Linked DNA regions of Homo sapiens: region 2 is linked to region 1. The links are contacts of gene promoters, found by promoter capture Hi-C in blood cells and fetal thymus (Javierre and others, 2016). All regions are on one chromosome and are shown on one strand. Each heading gives the region's core, a stretch centred on a gene start or on the middle of the fragment in contact. The rest is flanking DNA. Distances are from core to core; before and after follow the strand shown. Region 1 holds the start of SH2D1B (SH2 domain containing 1B). Region 2 overlaps ATF6 (activating transcription factor 6).

The links. Contacts are between HindIII fragments. The CHiCAGO score rates a contact against its expected background, and 5 or more counts as called.
Region 2: a fragment that was not itself captured here is called in contact with the fragment with the promoter of SH2D1B in region 1 in 1 of 17 cell types (M0 macrophages); the score reaches 6.7 in M0 macrophages.

The regions. Positions count from the first base shown.
Region 1 is chr1:162,410,692-162,417,510 of GRCh38, forward strand. SH2D1B (SH2 domain containing 1B) reads right to left here and starts at 1,445. Exons shown (of 4, transcript NM_053282.5): 1 at 1,192-1,445. The coding sequence starts at 1,325. The HindIII fragment of the contact is 13,514 bases long and covers 1-1,628 here.
Region 2 is chr1:161,835,572-161,841,789 of GRCh38, forward strand. All of the region lies in intron 9 of ATF6 (activating transcription factor 6), which reads left to right. Among named protein-coding and RNA genes, the nearest start is that of ATF6, 72 kb to the left of the region's middle. The HindIII fragment of the contact is 904 bases long and covers 1,626-2,529 here.

The sequences.
Region 1 (6,819 bases), core at 195-2,694:
TGTTGCCCAGGCTGGAGTGCAATGGCACAATCTCAGCTCACTGCAACCTCCACCACCCGGGTTCAAGTGATTCTCCTGCCTCAGCCTCCCAAATAGCTGGGATTACAAGCATACGCCACCACACCTGGCTAATTTTGTATTTTTAGTAGAGACGGGGTTTCTTCGTGTTGGTCAGGCTGGTCTCGAACTCCCGACCTCAGGTGATTCACCTGCCTCCGCTTCCCAAAGTGCTGGGATTACAGGAGTGAGCCACTGTGCCCAGCCACTCTTTTTTCTTTTTTTTGGACAGAGTCTCACTCTATTGCCCAGGCTGGAGTGCAGTGGTGCAATCTCAGCTCACTGCAGCCTCTGCCTCCTGGGTTCAAGTGATTCTCCTGTCTCAGCCTCTCAAGTAGCCAGTATTACAGGCACACGCCACCACACCAGGTTAATTTTTGTATTTTTGGTAGAGATGGGGTTTTGCCGTGTTGGCCAGGCTGGTCTCAAACTCCTGACCTCAAGTGATTCACCTGCCTCAGCCTCCCAAAGTGTTGGGATTACAGGCATGAGCCACCATGCCCAGCCTGGAATTTCATGTTTAACTTAGACTCTGGAAATTCCAAATGAGTTTTAACACAAACAAATTATTTGAGAAATTCAGGTCTCTGTTTCTTTACCTATGAAATGGTGACTGCTTATGCTTGCCTTGATAGACTACTAGGATGAAAGGAAATGACGAATATTGAAGTCCTTCACAAATCTAACAAAATGTGAAATATGATTGTATTTATAGTTTACGTATTGCAAGCAGATGCTGCAGAATAAGTGTTTCAGATTGAAATTTCTTGAAGAACCCCTAGCCTTTTCCATACCAAATAAACAGATCTCTGGAGGACAGGACCTCTGACATTTGTACCTTCTTTCCATCCCTCTGTACCCCTGTACTTCCTGCAGCCCTTCCCTTCACCACCACCATGTCCCTCCTGCTGCTGCAGAGTCTGCTTGCAGGGCCTTTACACCAGGGAGAGCAGGCAGATGGAGGAGCATGGACAGATACATTCCTCTCCTGGCAGTGTCCATTACTTCTCATTCTACTCATTGAGACTCCAAAGTCAGAGTGAAATACTGAGGGATATGAATTCCTGTACTGTGTGGCAGCCATTGCCACATTCAACATACGATGTCAGATGTGTGCAAGATGAGGCTACTCACGAGACACAGAGGCACAGGACTCCTGGTATCGACTCGCTGTCTCTTAAAAGAAAGTTGCCATCCACCCCTTCCTTGAGCAGCAAGGTCTCACAGTCTTGCTTGGTCAGACGTCCATGGTAGTAAGGCAGATCCATGGAGAACGCTCTTGTATCCCAGGAAGCCCTGTTGGCCTGAAATTCACCCCCAAGTCAAGGGACAGCTCTGAGGAGAGATGTGTAAGCAGCTGTACCTCCTGTGGAGCTACCTCTTCCTCTAGCGGTCTGTGGGACTCAGCCAGCTTCACAAGATTCAGGAAATGAGGAGGGCGGGGTGATAAAATGACCAACACTTTTCACCCTCTAAATGGCCCACATGTGACTCACAGAAGTAGGTAAAGCACATTTAAACACACAATGGAATCAGTGATGCTCATGGCTAGGGAGGCAATGCTGAAGTCAAGCTTCCTGGAACTGTGTTGCAGCCTTGTATATTACCATGGACTATCATCAACTTCTTTGGCTACTGGTATCCTTTCCAGGAAGCACACCGCTGCTTTTGCTGTAATGGTACCCATTTTCTGCTGAAGTTGCCTAGGATTGGGCTATGCTTAGCTTAGACTGGGTGCTCAAAAACCATTTGGATGCTGAGAGAATTGATATGCTCAGATACAATGGGAAAATTGAAAGGGTGGGATTTCCGTGGATCAAATGACACTAAAAATGGAAGACATTAATGGCAATAAAAAACAGTGGGACACTGTGGATGAGGACAGCCCATTCCATGGCTAAGGCTCCCAGCCACTGGTGAAAAAAGGCCATTTGAACACCCTCAAGCATTGTTCCTTTTGGAGAAAGGGCTGGTGTAGGTGGGAGGGATATCTGGGTATACTCATATATCTACAGAAAATCACTATATATATCTCAAAAATGTTATCTATGAAAATAGAACTATGTGCTAACGATTCATCTTTACTTCTCTTAACTTCTTCTTTTTTTTGTTTTCTTCATCTCCGTAGTACCTGGAGATCTTAACTTCTTCTTAACCTAGATGTTTATTTCACCTTGCTACTTTGCTTACCAGCTGTTTACTCACAGTTGGGTGTATCTTCTATGGAACTTCCTTGTAACAGATCTTTGTTCTTCCTTGGAATTCCCACTCTGCATTTGGCATAGTGCAGTTTCACTGATCAGGGAACTCGTTATCAGACAGATATGCTCTCAAATAGCAACTTTTCTTCTGTGGTTTTGGACAATTCATTATTCAATTCTCTGGAAACTATGGCAGTTGAAGACAGAGTTGTTAATAATGAAAGAAGAAATTTGGTATTTCTTGTGAATAAATTCACAATCGTGGTGTAAAGATGCTTTTTGACATAAGAGAGGAAATAACTGAAAGCATGCTCAGGCTCTTGGTCATCACAGGGGCTTCCTTGCCCTTTTTGCTGTTTCAAAATCCAACCCTCACAATAAAAGAAATGCAAATTACCTGCATGCTGAGATAACAACTCTCACCTATCATATGGGTGAAAATCAAAAGTTTGAAAGCTTATTGGGTTGGTCATGGTGAAAGAAAATAGAATATCTTGTATATCATTAGTTGGAATAAAAAATAGTTACAACTATAGTAAAAGATGGTTTGGCAATATCTTGCAAATTTATGTATGCCTTCACCATCTGATAGAACAATCTCAGTTCTAGAAATCTGTCACAAAACTACACAGGCAGAATTAGAAAATGACTTGTGAATAAGGTAGTATTTTTTAATAGAAAAAGATTACAAACAACTCAAAGACTTGTGAATAGAGGGACAGGTGAATAAACTGTGATTCATGTATACAATGGAATATTACTATAGAATAATAAAATGGGATTGAGGAAGATCTCTATATGCTGATATGCAATAATCTTCAGGATGTATTTTTAGGTGAAAGCAGCAAGATGCACAATAGTATATAGAGTATGGGGGATATAAATAAATATATACATTTATAATATTTGCTCATATTTAAAAAACAAACGAAACACCCACTGGAAGAACAAAACTAAAACTAATTAAAACTAAAAACTTCTGCCTCTAAGAGGAGAGCGGAAACATGCATAGAGGTGAGACTTCTCTCAGTAAAACTTGCTGTAGAGTTGTTGGTTTTTTGTTTTGTTTTGTTTTGAGACAGAATCTCACTCTGTTACCCAGTCTGGAGTGCAGTGGTGTGATCTCGGCTTACTGCAACCTCTGCCTCCCTGGTTCAAGCAATTCTCCCACATCAGCCTCCCAAGTAGCTGGGACTACAGGCACGTGCCACCATGACTAGCTAATTTTTGTATTTTTAGTAGAGACAGGGTTTCACCATGTGGCCCAGGCTGGTCTCAAACTCCTCACTTCAAGTGATCTGCCTGCCTCGGCCTCCCAAAGTGCTGGGATTACAGATGTGACCCACTGCGCCCAGCCTGCTGTGGAGTTTTGAATGTAGAATCATGTAATTGTTTTTTTGTTTTGTTTTGTTTTGTTTTGAGACAGAGTCTCACTCTGTCGCTCAGGCTGGAGTGCAGTGGTGCGATCTCGGCTCACTGCAAGCTCTGCCTCCTGGGTTCATGCCATTCTCTTGCCTCAGCCTCCCGAATAGCTGGGACTACAGGCCCCTGCCACCACGCCCAGCTAATTTTTTGTATTTTTAGTAGAGACGGGGTTTCACCATGTTAGTCAGGATGGTCCCAATCTCCTGACCTCGTGATCCACCCACCTCGGCCTCCCAAAGTGCTGGGATTACAGGCGTGAGCCACAGCGCCCGGCCATAATTGTTTTACACATTGAAAATAAACAAGTAAAAGGGTATTCCTAAAAGGAGGAATAAAAACTAAAATAATGTATCTAACTGAACATTACTTTGGTAATATAATCATAAAGAAAATTATTTCAACTGACTTTAGAATGTAGAATTTGAGTGAACAGTTTTAATTAAATATCTTGTACATTAAATAAACTAGCAAATAAATTTAGTGATAATTTGGTGTAATTTAAATATATTTAACTCATATTATAAGATAAACAAAAATCATACTGATATTAACATTTTAAGAACTAAGTAAGGTAAACAACTGTACCAGTTTGCTTATGTCTGAGGGGTTTCCCAGTATCTACGACTTTCAGTGTTAAAGACAGATGAGTCCTGGGAAAATTCTAGAATCAAGATTTTTTTTCAGTATAAGAAAAGAGATACACATATAAAAGCAAAGAAGTTAAATAAAATTTTTGATGCTAAATTTGAATTGGAAATATCAGCATGGATTTACAACTTGCTTTTCAACAAAAGGCCTAAAACAGGGGCCAGCAAACTTTTTCTTAGGCATTGCAGGCAATAGTCTCTGTTGCAACCATTCATCTCTGCCATTGTAGTGTAAAAGCAGCACTATGGGCTGTAGTTTGCCAATCCCTAGCTAAAACAATGAAAACTTGGTAGCAATGAGCACACCTAGGGATAAGGCTATGGTCTCTAAATACCACTTCTCCTATAAAAGAAGCAAGAACTTTTTAGAGAAATGGCTGAATTCATGCCAGGGACATATAAGTGTGTCAGTGAAGACTGAGTCATGTCAAAGGACATAAGACCCAATATGGAAAAATTTAAGTATCAAAGGAATAATGATTGTGGTTGATCAAAATACGTTGAATTTATATTATCCAGTAAAAGATCAACCTTGCCCAAATATAGATGTAGCCCTTTGTCCTAGCTCCTTGGAGAAAAGCTTTAAGCTCTTGGAATCCAGTGTATGGGACATTCAGTAGAACAAATAATGTGGTGTCTTCATAGGTTGTAAAAACTGAGTCAGATAGTTGGGTGAGAACTGCTCTAGGTTAAAAAGATGGTTATGCAGCATGAAACCAATGCTAGATGACATCTTGTTTGGATCTTGGCTTGAAAAAACCAAATACCAAAAATTTAGTGCTGGGGGAAATTTAAGTATTGATTTGATATTAGATAGTGCGTGTAGCAATGGCATTATGCTTTTGTGAATATAACTTTTAGAGATACGTATTGAAGTGTTATGTCTGATACTGGGTGATTGTGTGTGTGGTTCATTATATTAATGTCTCTTTTTGCATGTGTTGTAAAGTTTTAATAGTAAAAATATCTTTCCATTCCCATATTATTCTGATCCCATGTCACCTTTAAGAATAGCTCCACAGTACACAGGAATATCTTCAATTTCTTGCGTGGGTCCCCTTTCTCTCATCCACAGAAACAAAAACCTAGCACTATGTTTGTAGAACATGACCCTATTCTTCTGGCCATGGGTGATTTGATCAAGGATAGGCCTCCGACCTAAGATAAGTTAATCACAAACCCTTATCCAGGAGTTTAGAGAAAATGGGGAAATGAAGGAAATGAGAGAGAAAAAGAGAGAGAGATGAAAGGAAGGAAGGAAGGAAGGAAGGAAGGAAGGAAGGAAGGAAGGAAGAAAGAGAAAGAAAGAAAGAAGAGAAAGAGAAAGAAAGAAAAAGAAAAGAAAGAGAGAAAGGGAAGGAAAGAAAGAGAGAAAGAAAGAAGAAAGAGAGAGAAAGAAAGAAAAAGAAAGAAAGAAAGAAAGAAAGAGAAAGAAAGAAAGAGGGTAGGGGGCTGGGATGGGTAGGAAATGGGAATGGAAATTAATTCTCTAGGAATGGCTGTGTAACAGGTACATTTTTACACTGTATACTGGTGGCCATATCCCAGCAAGCTGTCAGGAGAAGAGAACTGGTCTGCAAAATGAGGAATGAAGTGGACACATGAAAAAAAGCAGAGTCAAAAGATAGTCTCACTTGGATTTTCCATGGGTTTTCATTCCAGGATTCAGTGATTTCTGAGGTCTGGCTACATGCTTGCCCTTGAGTTTTTTTGTCATTTTAATAGATTTCCCTTTTGTCATAAGCTAGTTGGCATTTGTTTTTGTTATTTTCTACTAAAGATGTCAAATAAATCCAGCCTTACAGATAAAATTCTGTTCTCAAGACCAAGGAAGCATGAGGCCAAATGTGAATCACAGTGTTGTTCTGAGTGAAAAGTCACGTAGAAACTGGACAGTGTGGTGTCAACCCCAGAAAGCCCAAGATCACAAGATCATCACTGACCACAGCAGCATGGCAAATGCTTGTGTTGTGCTTGTTAAAAGATGCCTGATGGAGGGCAACAGTGTAGGACCTCCCACTTCATTCCTACTGTCTTATCGTAGGAGATAGCACTTTGTCTATCTCCTTAAAGAGCTAACTCATTGCATCACCATCATTCATTGAACATACTTTATAGTGGGACCCCAATATTCTTGGAATCTCCATGACTCTAAGGGCAGAACCGCCTATGTGAGAGGCAGTGTGGTGTGGGGGCTTCAGCAAGAGGCCTTGCCACCTGTTCATTCTTGCACTGCTACAAAGAAACACCTGAGACTGGGTAATTCATAAAGAAGTTGAATTGGCTCACAGTCCACTGGTTATGCAGGAAGCATGGAAGCATCTGCTTTTGGGGACGGCTCAGAGAGCTTTTACTCATGGTGGAAGGCAAAGAGGGAGCAGGACTGAGAAGGGGGAGGTGTCACACACTTTTATACAACCAGATCTCACAATAACTCACTCACTATCACAAGAACAGCACCGAAGGGATGGTGCTAACCCATTCATAAG
Region 2 (6,218 bases), core at 828-3,327, 570 kb before region 1:
GCCACTATGGAAATTGTAAAAGCACTTATTCATTAGATTATAAGATAATGTACGTAAGGGAAGTTTTTATTAAAATGTCTCTAGACAGACACCTCTGTATAGATAGGTTTGTCTCATATACTTGAGGACATTTATGGACCTCTGTTTTGGACAGAGTAGGGGCCACAGCATAATCTGTGAAGGGAACTTCTTCCTGGCACATAGGATTGCAGATTATAGATTCCTTTGTTATGTTTTCCCCTTTCTATTTTAAAGGTCACTATAGTCATCCTCCTTTGCTGCAAATCATAAATGAACATACTAAGGAGGTTTTAAATATGTTTTAGTTAGGTCTTAAAAAAATTAACAAATGTTTGGAATTGACAGTGCTTTTACCCTGTTTTTGTTCTGGGTTAATGCTGCGCCCTCACTAGGTCTGGAATCTTTATAGTTTGAGACATCAGACTTGGATGAGGAAGGGTAAATCATGCTACTAGTGGGCCAGTTACTCTGTGGTTTTCTTATGAGACTGTGCTTTAAGGAAAAGGTAACCACGGAGCATATGGCATTGAGTTTGAGTCATGTGGAACTGGTTAGAAGTAAAATGTTTCTATTCCAGCATTCTCTGAGTTTGTCAGCTTTTCATTATTTTATAGGAAGAATTCTAGCTTCTTATCCTGAGATGAGCTTGTCTCCAAATCTGGTTCCAATTTTTTGTTGTTGTTGTTGAGCACATTTCGCCATATGATATCACTATTGGCTGTAGGTTAAAAGTTACCGTGTAACTTAAACGTCAGAATTCAAACCACCAAGTATACACGGTTTTGTTCAGCCAGATTTTTAAATGAAATCTAATTTGAGTTTTTGGCTAAAAGTACTTTCCACATTTATCAAAGTGACACATGAACTGAAGAAATACAATGTATCTGAGTACCAGGTGTTACTGAATCTGGAATTGCAGGAGGGTAACAGAGCCAAAGGCAGTCCTTTCCTCAAATAGTCTTAACGTATTCATGTTTGTCAAAAATGTGTCTACACAAAGTAATTGGTTCTCTTTTCTCTGTAGATTTCATCCTTTGTTGAAAAAGATGTCTTAGAACCTATCAAGTGCAGAGCTGGGTTTTGAGGGCATGGAAAATTCTGTTGATGCTTTTCTCTAGTTTTGGCTTTCATGTGAGTTGTACATAGGGAGGCTTATAAGGAGCATCCTAGTGGCTTTACCTTGTATCACTTGGCTACTTTTTCCCCACACTTCATTGTTGTAATGAAGGGAAAGGCAGCTGAAACCAGAAACCTACATCCCTTGCCAACTTAAGAGATAAAAGGAAATTTATCTCTTCTGCTTTCTACCTAGTGAGAAGGGGTCGGTGAGAAACTAGGCCAGGTGAGAAAACTACTATCAGAGTTTAAGTTGAGTACTTCGATATGTTCTTCAGACCATACATCTTAGTTAACATAAAACAAGGACTAGTGGATAGTTTGTGTGAAATAGCATTTTCAACCACCATTTTCAGTACTTAATATAGCTGGGTGGAATCATGCTGTGTAAGTGCTGCAGAACATAAATAATAAAGGAAATAAACATCTTAATTTTGTAACAAGTGAAGGTCTAGGCTAATATTAAGGGTAGTATAGGATACTTTTGAAGCTTTTGAATGTACAGAAGTACATATGTAATTATTATATATTGCTTAGACTTCTAGGCAGTTTGCCATTCATGTCTTTTTTGTCTCCAGATTGAGCTGTTTTGTCACATTAGTGAGCATTTGAAACATAATTTTAAGTGTCATTCTACAAATGGTTCTTAATTGATTTATGACTAATGTCAGTATGAACTGCAGGTGTGTGCCGTGCCTTTGGACTTTTTGGTGTCTGTGTGTTCTGAACATAAATTGGCCTTAGTATGTTATGCACACTGTCAGTTTATCACAATCCATGGCCTCTGAGGAGCCAGAAGTACGGAATGTACAGACGATCTATGTACCTTATATTATTTTCTGTCTCAGCCCTTTCCCAGAATTCCCAATAAAGCAGATTTCTCAATTACTTGCTTTTATTTTTCCTTTCTCCCATTTTTTTTTTTTTGGTAAATTAACAATGAGAGATAAATGGAAATAAGGCAGTTGGAAGAAAAGAGGATGAAAACAGGTGAAGATTCTTAGTTGTGGAATAAGCTAGGTTGGCTATGGGTTGATACCATGTGTGCTTGGGTAGTAAAGGTAGCTAGTTTTTTCTGCGTGTTGTATTAAGCCATTATTTATCAAATACTAATTACGTTTTATGCACTAAATACTAGTCCAAGTATTCTATTTGATATATGGATTAATTCATTTGTTCCTCCTAGTGCCATGAGGCAGGTATTATTATTCCTGATTTACAGATGAGGAAACCGAAGACACAGCTAATATGTGGCAGAGATCAGAATCACAATCTGCCTCTGGAGCCTTGGCTTAATCACTGACAGAGCAACAGCCACTCAGGCAGAGAAAAAGGAGTTGGCATTTACAGTTAGAGGAGTTAGGACTTTAGTAACTCTGCCCGTTTCCCTAAAGCTTAGGATTGGCTGTGATAGGGGAAAGTAGCTTATGAATTGACTGGATTGATGTAAGTATAACAGAAAAGAGAGATTGTACTCAAATTTACAGCCATGTTTTTTGACATTTAGAATAATCAGAGGATACTTTTCTGTAGTGAGAAATATACAAAGAGTTGTTCACACACACACCTTTTATATTAAACACTGACTCAGTGATGTCAGCAATCTAATTACTATAGAGTATCAGTTATCTAATACTGTGGAACAAACCACCCCAAAACCTAAACGCTTAAGACAACAGCAGTTATTATTTTGGTAAAGAAATCTGCAAATTGGGCAGAGTTCAGGACAGACAGTTCTTCTTTGCCTCCGTGGAGTGTTAGCTGGGGTGGCTTAGGTTGGAGGACCCACTTTCAGATTGGCTCATTCACATGGCCAGTAAGTTGGTGACGGCTTTCAGCTGGGACCTGAGCCTGGGATGTGGGCCAGGGTTCTTGGTTTTTCTTCATTTGGACCTCTCCACAGCTGCATGGGTTTCCTCACAGTTTAGTGTCTGGGTTCCAAGAATAAGCATCATCTATTAGAATAGTGCTTGCTTTATAATTGCTTATTGAATGAATGAAAGAATCTCAGGTTGTTTTCTTGCTCATGTTGGCCCATTTGGCAAATAGCCACTGTAAAGTGCAGGTTTCTTCCCAGAGCACGGTAATCCCTGGCTCTGAGAACTGCTATTTAGAGGGTTCTTTTATCTTGACTTGAAGGTCTATTTCTTCATTTAACCACATTTATGTTTCTAATAAATTACCCCCAGTTACTACTAGGCTGCAAAAATCATCTCTGAACCATTCAATAAACAGAGAAAAGAAAACCTTTTTAAAATTTGGAAACTACCTTGAAAACTCCCCATTTTTTCCTCCTTTTAGTCTCAGTTGCATTGAAAGTTAACATAATGTTCTGTTCCTGGATCTGGAAATGGTGTAATAGTGACTTCACCACCTGCCATTCTTGAGTTGTGGGTTAGTTTCCCTAAAATGTAGATCTTGACAAGAGGCAGATGGTGCATGAAGTTTATTTATTTGTTTATTTTTTGAAAAAGGAATACCTCTTATGAACCAGGAACTAGAACACCCCTTAGCTTACATTCTAACAAGAAGAGAGACAATAAACATAAGTAAAATGAGAAAATTATAAATTCTTTGGACAAAGGGATAAAGTATAGTAGGGTAAATGGTTTTACATGTTGAAGGGTAGTTGTTGGGACTGTAGTTTTATTTACTTATTTTTAATTTTTTTTGAGGCAAGGTCTTGCCCTGTTCCCCAGGCTGAAGTACAGCAATGCAATCACGGCTCACTCAGCCTTGACCTCCTGAGCTCAAGCGATTGTTCCACCTCAGCCTCCTGAGGAGCTGGGACCACAGGCACACTCCACCACACCCAGCTAATTATTGTATTATGATTATTATTATCGTAGAGATGAGGTTTCACTGTGTTGCCCAGGCTGGTCTCAAACTGCTGGGCTGAAGCAGTCTGCCCACCTTGGCTTCACAAAATTCCGGGATTACAGGTGTGAGCCACTGTTCCCTGCCAGGACTGTAGTTTTAAATGGTGATCACTGTAAGGCAGGTGTTTGAGCCAAGGCTTAAAGGAGAGGAGAGGGTTAGCCATATGGATATCTGAGGAAGAACAGCATTCTTGGCAGAGGAAACAGCCATTGCAGGGATCCTGGGGTGGAAATGTGTCTTGCATGTTCAAGGAAAAACAAGGTGGCTTTGCTAAAGAGAGAGTAGTAGGAGATGATGTCAGAGAGGTGAGATACAGGGAGAGGTCAATTGAGGTAAGACTTCTGTCGTTTTAAAGATTTGGGCTTTTACCATGATAGAAATGGGAAGCCATCAGAAGGTTTTGAGCAGAGGTGACATAATAATCTGACCTAGATTTTAAAAGGATCACTTTAGTTACTATGTTGCCACTAGCCTGAACCTGGTAGGCAGGAAGACAAGTGTCCTGCTCTGTGTCATCTTTGGGCTTTATAAACCATGTTCCATCTGTTGTCTCATTTGAATCTCAGGAAAACCTTGTGAAATATTTGTTATTTTTCATGTTTTACATGTGAGGAATTGGAGGCTTAGAGAAGTTGACCAAGTATCCCAGACATACTCAAGTGAGCAGTCTCAGAGTAACATCTTGAACCCAGATCTCCTGTCTCCAAATTTTGTGCTCATTCCACTATTTCACATTAAAACCTGAAGATCTCCCTGCTCTTTTCATCTTAACGTAATTTCAGCTTTTTGTGTGTGGCTCTCCAAGCCACAGAGCAGCAGCAGCTTTTGAGGATAAGAAGCAGTTTCTTTTAAGGATAAGAAGCAGTATGGTTCTTACCTGGTAAGATGGCTTGAATTCAAAATTGACCTACTTGTACCATAAGAAAGCAGGTTTGCAAGGAGTAGAATAGACTTGGAGATATGCCATTTTTTGTTCAGCTACTTGGTATGAAGACTGAGTATCTGAAACCACACTGTAAGGATTAAGTGGCTTCATAAATAATCTAAAACAGTTGTTGGCTTTTAGAATTTAATAAATGAAAAAGTAAGGTAACAATTCTTATAATACTTTTTCCAGACTTTCGGGGAAATTGAAATCATTTGTGTTTTATTAATCCATGCTTTTCAGGACCAATGGCCCATAATGTGAGCAAGGTTTATTGGTGTAATGATTATTTTGTGGCCTAAAACTACTGTGACTCTTTGGACTAGCATGTTTCTGATCATAGAGACAGCTAGAGACTTCTTCTTTTTTCTTAATATTTGTAGCTTGTTTTAAACGTACTGAGTAGAACCTGATTTAAGCAATTATACAAAGTTTGGTTAGATTGCTTTATTAATATTATGAACTAGAAACAGTCACCAAATGCGCATTCATTATACTAATCCTTACTATGATTGAGTCATTTCTTTGAGTTCTTGGAAATCTAATTTTTCTAAAATTAACAAAAGGGGACATTTGAATGATGCAAAAGCACTCATGGCAAGAATCTAAAAGTTCATATAAATAATAATTTTCTCATACTCTTTTATACATTTGACCATTACAAGATCTGTCAAATTCCTTTCAATATTTGTGATGTCACAGTCGTACTAAAACAATCTTGAATTCTGGCAGCGAAATGAAGTTCTTACCTGTCTTTCAGATGTTAATAAAAATAAGGGAAATACAAACCTGTAGTTATTCAGATGGTTAAAATTAGTTTCTGTGGGTCATTTCATAGAGTTCAAGTATTTAAATGTTTTTTTAGCTGAATTGGACAATCAACTTGTCTGTAATTTAGCTTAAGAGAAATTCCATTTTAAGACAAAAAAACTACAGGGAATGTAGGCCAAAAAATAATAACAACCAAAAACAAACAAGTGAAAAACGTTAAAAGATTCTTAGCAGAATTTATTAATATATTACCTCTTCAAAATATATTCTAGCCAATGGATAGATAATAAAATTGAGACCCACAGACTATTTGGATCCTAAATTTTGTTTCATCATGACTCCCTTGTTGAAAATACTTTATTGACTCTGTGTAATGTAAATAAGATAATTTTTGTGAAGCTCATTGAATGCGTCTGAGCTCCTTAACTCAAAAAAGGCTAAAAGTTACTGAAATAGCTATGGTTAAGGGTATATTGTCATTACAATGTGATAATCATTACCAAAG